2 separate regions of the Homo sapiens genome follow, and region 1 is linked to region 2. The links are contacts of gene promoters, found by promoter capture Hi-C in blood cells and fetal thymus (Javierre and others, 2016). All regions are on one chromosome and are shown on one strand. The core of a region is centred on a gene start or on the middle of the fragment in contact, and the rest is flanking DNA. Distances in the headings are between cores, read along the strand shown. Region 1 has its middle 13 kb from the start of KRTAP9-7. Region 2 holds the start of KRTAP1-4 (keratin associated protein 1-4).

Region 1 (2,700 bases), core at 141-2,640, 260 kb before region 2:
AATGGGCTTTGATAAAGGATGTTAAGGGGCAAAGTTAAGGCAGCCTTGTAAAGGTCAACTTGGAAACTAAATATCAGTAGGGAGTTATCTCAGTGGCTATAAGTTAAGACAACAGAATAAAAACTGATATTTGAGACATAAAAATGGCCCAAAAGATGGGTGTAATGAGCCCATGAGTCCCCAGTATAACATGAAACTTGCCCATCTGCGTGGTGTACGGCATTTGGTGTTACTCATGTTGGTCTCATCAGTTTGCCCACCTAAATAAATTCATCTTACAACAATAGTTCTATAACATCTAGAAGTAAGTTCCCTCCTGTAGCCCACTTCATCAGAAACTTCTTGGCAACACCTGAACCTAGCTGGAACTGGAAAAATATTTGATGGTAGTGATTTCCTGATAAATAGTCTAGAGCTGTTGCAAACAAAATCCAAGGATTGCTCTTTTTAGACACAGTCTTGCTCTGTCGCACAGTCTAGAGTGCAGTGGCTTGATGTTGGCTCACTGCAACCTCCGCCTCCTGGGTTCAAGCGATTCTCCTGCCTCAGCCTGCCGAGTAGCTGAGATTGCAGGTGCGTGTCACCACACCCCACTAATTTTTTGCATTTTTAATAGAGACGGGGTTTCACCACATTTGTCAGGCTGGTTTTGAACTCCTGACCTCAAGTGATCCACCCACCTTGGCCTCCCAAAGTGCTAGGATTACAGGTGTGAGCCACTGTGCCTGGTTAAAGGGTTGCTGTTTAAATGAACTATTTGCTTATGCTCTAAGTCAGCATGGATGGGATCCATAGATCTTTCCCGAAGTCTTAAAAATTAGTCTCTTGACTTAGTGGCATGGGAATAGATGTGAAAGAACTTTGTTTTTTTAAAAATATTAATTAATTAATTAATTTTTGAGACAAAGTCTTGCTCTTTCACCCAGGCTGGAGTGCAGTGGCGCGATCTCAGCTCACTGCAAACTCTGCCTCCCAGGTTCAAGTGATTTTCGTGCCTAAGCCTCCCGAGTAGCTGGGAATACAGGTGCACACTGCCAAGCCTGGTTAATTTTGTATTTTTAGTAGAGACGGGTTTTGCCATGTTGGCCAGGCTGGTCTCGAACTCCTGACCTCAAATGATCCTCCTGCCTTGGCCTTTCAAAGTGCTGGGATTACAGGTGTGAGCCACTGTGCCAGGCCAAAATGGGAAAAAGCTTTGTAAAATATAAAATATCCTTTAAATTTAAGAGCTTATGAAGGATATACTGCACACATAATCTAGGTCACGAAAGGATATGCAAGATGAGTATAGATTACTAGGTGATAAATTGGGAAATGCCTTAGTTGCAAAGAAGATAATTCAAATTATAAATACAATGAAGAAATGTGCAGGAAAGATATTTTAGAGGTGGCAAAATTAACCAGTTATTAAGACAATCAGCAGAGGTGGTGGACAGGGATGGTGAATCTCATGCATGTCCAATTTCTAGTGATACTCATTAGTTAAATCCAAACCCTCACTAGTGGCCATGAAGTCCAATGTTTCTTTAAAAAGGCAGTAAGGACCAATGAAGATTTTTTTCCTTGTCCATAGTTTAGTCAAGCTTCTGAACCTTCTCATAGGCCCATGGGTGCACTTCCTTGTAAAATCCAGTTTTGTAAAATTTTAGCAAAGAGCCCTGCTAAATAGGTTTAGCAAGAACTCCCCATCCTCGATATCTGATCACCCTTAATAGCGGATCAGATCTCTTATCTGCCACCATTCTCCAAGTGATGTTTGATCACCCTCGCCTGTCTTCAGCAAGAGCACTTTTAGGTCAGTTTAGCCAAAATTTCCCTACTGGTGATGCTTCCTCTTAGTAATTTTCCATCCACTGACCGCCACCCTGCTCCTTGGCTGTAAATTCTCACTTGCCCATGCTATGTTAGGAGATGAGTCCAATCTCTGTCTCCCAATGCAAGACCCTGTTATGGTGGTTCCTTTGTTTACTGCAGTGTTCCTGAATAAAGTCTCCCTTACCAGGCTTTCACAAGTGCCATTGAATAATTTTTTTTTTAACAAGACTATGATGAATTTTTAAAAGCCAAATCCCTATTGTTTCCCTGATAACATATTATTTCACCAGAAAAATAAATATAAGAAATTCATTTTAAATGTATCTCAAACCATCAGAAAAGGGCTTAACCTTATTGAACTGAGCTACTAGGAAAGAGGAGGAAAGAAGAAGAGTGGAAACCATCGGTCATTCAGTGCAAGCATGTCCGGCTGTCACCAATAAGCTAGCTGTACCTGTCTTAGGACAGAGCTGTATGAAGGAAGTTAATATTTACCAGTTAAAAGAAAAACGAAAGAGGAAAACAGTGATTCAGCACTAAACAGAATTAAGAGTCAGTCATTTGAAATATAGAAAGCCCTAGAAATACCATTACAAACAACAATAATAACAATAAGCCCCCTATTGTATAATAACAAATTGTGCAATAGGTAAAAGATAGATTGTTTAAAGTCTTCTTGGATGTTGTAAGTTATTTTCAGGGCCAAAAAGGAAAAAACTGCTCTTGCAATTCAAGTTCGGGTATATATTTTGCAAATGCTGGCATGCTCAATGCTTCCTGAAGGAGAGGGAGCTATCCTTATTTTGATCAGTTCAGATTGAATGAAAATTTTCTCTGATGCTAATATAGATCCAGTCTCCCAAATTTTAGGTTCCCCACGATTCT
Region 2 (2,733 bases), core at 27-2,526:
AGTTTCCTCTATACTTTGGATATTAACCCTTTATCAGATATGTGGTTTATAAATATTTTCTCCCATTCAGCGGTTTGCGTCTTCACTCAGTTTAGTGTTTTATTGGCTGTGCAGAAGCTTTTTAGTTTGATGTAATCCCACTTGTCTATTTTTGCTGATGCTTTTGGATTCATGTTCACAATATCACAATATTGGCCAGGCAAAAGTCATGGAGTTTCCTCTGTTTTCTTCTTATAGTTTTATCATTTTGAGTCTTTCTTACATTTCAGTCTTTTAATCCATTCTAAGTTGGTTTTTGTATATAATGTGAGACAATGGTCTAATTTCATTTCTTCTGAATGTGAATGTGGTCAAATGATTTTCAACAAGGGTGACAAGACTATTTACAAATGGTTAAGATGGTTAATGTAAATGGTTCATAAATTTTATGGTATGTATATTTTACCACAATTAAAAATTTGTAACTATAAACATGTGTAGGAGACCCAAACTTTTCTGAAATAGAAGATATATATGTATATATGCTGGTTTATATTTGCAGAAGCAAGGATAAAGGTGTCAAAGAATGTGCACCAAATTCTTAATATTGATTACCTCTAGAGCATTAGTTTTGGAAGAGATGTGTGCATCTTCCAGGAAGGGAAAAGACACTAATTTTTCTTTATATACCTCTGTACTCTTTGACTTGTTACAATGTGTACTCATTACTAGCACATATGTTTAATTTAATAGAGTCAGAAAACAATCTACAAGCAAAAGTCATTAAAGATTTTAGTTAGCAATTTGTACATTCACTATTACTGAAGGCAAGAATATTAGATAGAGCTCTGAGGATCCTATAACTTGCACAAATTGATCATAGAAAGGCATACTTGGTTTGAAAGTTGATACATCAGGTTGTAGTTCATGTTTTGATGACACTAATGTTAGTCTTTCCAAGTCTGGACAAATTGTTTATAAAATCATGATCATAGTTAAGTGACCATTTAAGGAAAAATGATCAGTTAAGATAAATTCTGCCTAAAGGTTATCAAAGGACAACTATGACAAAACGTGCCAGGGCGACACTTGGCTCAAGGCTAGTCTGTCATGTGACTTGCATAAAGAGGCACTTCGGTGCTTGGCTTCCATGATGAGCCTTCACTTCGCCCAGAGGGCAAAGAAGAAACATAATGAGACTTAATTGTACAATGGAAAAAGGCTATTGAAATGCTATTTATAACTTTATAAACACCTCAGGTATTAGCCAGAGACTCACACTGAAATTGACATCAAGAAAAGGTGTTGGGTAAATATGCAGCTCTAGGGAACATATCAAAGGACAGATATAGAAGGTACAGCCCAAACTCAGAAACCTCTCTTAACACAGCTCTCAACCCAACTCCTGACACCATGGCCAGCTGTTCCACCAGTGGGACCTGTGGCTCCAGCTGCTGCCAGCCAAGCTGCTGTGAAACTAGCTGCTGCCAGCCAAGCTGCTGCCAGACCAGCTCCTGCGGAACCGGCTGTGGCATTGGTGGTGGCATTGGCTATGGCCAGGAGGGCAGCGGTGGATCTGTGAGCACCCGTATCAGGTGGTGCCACCCAGATTGCCACGTGGAGGGCACCTGCCTGCCCCCCTGCTACCTGGTAAGCTGCACACCCCCATCCTGCTGCCAGCTGCACCACGCCGAGGCCTCCTGCTGCCGCCCGTCCTACTGTGGACAGTCCTGCTGCCGCCCAGCCTGCTGCTGCCACTGCTGTGAGCCCACCTGCTAAAAGCCAGGTTGCTGATCGCTTAAGAATGAAAGGGGAAGCACAGCAAAATTGTGCTGATTTCTGAAGAACTGTTCGATTTTACTTGGATGCTAAGTACCATGATGTTGTTAAGCTGCTCAGAGATAATGAAACTCCTAGTTAGGACACTGTGGATGTGCCGAATTCACTTACTGAAAGATGTATCAATCAGTGTTCTGGATAGCTTGCGTTGCTTGAGCAGAGGACCAGGATGGAATAGTTCATCATTTCAGTGACATCTCTGCTCCCCCAACTCTCTCTTGATGCTCATGCATCTTCAGACCTGGTTTTTCCTTGAATATCTCTGATTAATCCAAATAAAATGTTTTAATGTGCAAAGCAAACTGAGTTATGTCCTCCTTCTACCTTTAAACATGTCTTCTTGTAGCTGGTATTCAAGAGTGGATTTGCAATTTGATAATAATACCAAGGCATAACCATAAAGTCTAAACCAGAAAGATTAAATACAAAGTAAATTATGCTTGAATCCATCAGCTTAAAAATGCTCCATGAATTAAAGAATTTTTATAGTTCAAATATTTACATGCTCTAATCTATTATGATTAGGTCTAGACCAATAAAGGTTGACCTTTAGCTAAAATGTTAAGGTTGATCAAAGCTATTGATTTCTATCTAAATGTAATTCTACCATCTTTTGTCTCCTTCCATTTAATATACTAAATGTTCTCCTTCATTTATGCCCCAAAATCTAAAGAAATTGCATTACCTTCTAAATAGATTTAAAAATAGCTACTAGATACTACCTATTTTCCAAGAGAATTTAGGTTTAATTTCTACACCTTAGCCTTTCACATTCTTCCCACTGATCCTTGAATTGCTCTCTAAGCTTCAACTCCCACTATTCACCTTCATTTGATGTACGTATGCATAAGGTGTATCTTTGGTCTAAATGATAGTAGAAGAAACAGCTATAGAGAGCACCCGCTGAGTTCTACC

What was found. The method cuts DNA at HindIII sites, captures the fragments that hold promoters and counts their contacts. A CHiCAGO score of 5 or more calls a contact.
Region 1: a contact is called between a fragment that was not itself captured here and the fragment with the promoter of KRTAP1-4 in region 2, in 1 of 17 cell types (total B cells). The highest score is 6.8, in total B cells.

What each region holds. Positions count from the first base shown.
Region 1 is chr17:41,286,866-41,289,565 of GRCh38, reverse strand. No RefSeq gene overlaps it. Among named protein-coding and RNA genes, the nearest start is that of KRTAP9-7, 13 kb to the right of the region's middle. The HindIII fragment of the contact is 390 bases long and covers 1,196-1,585 here.
Region 2 is chr17:41,028,738-41,031,470 of GRCh38, reverse strand. KRTAP1-4 (keratin associated protein 1-4) reads left to right here and starts at 1,276. Exons shown (of 1, transcript NM_001257305.2): 1 at 1,276-2,120. The coding sequence starts at 1,393. The coding sequence ends at 1,758. RefSeq lists an enhancer at 1,637-2,186. The HindIII fragment of the contact is 2,506 bases long and covers 120-2,625 here.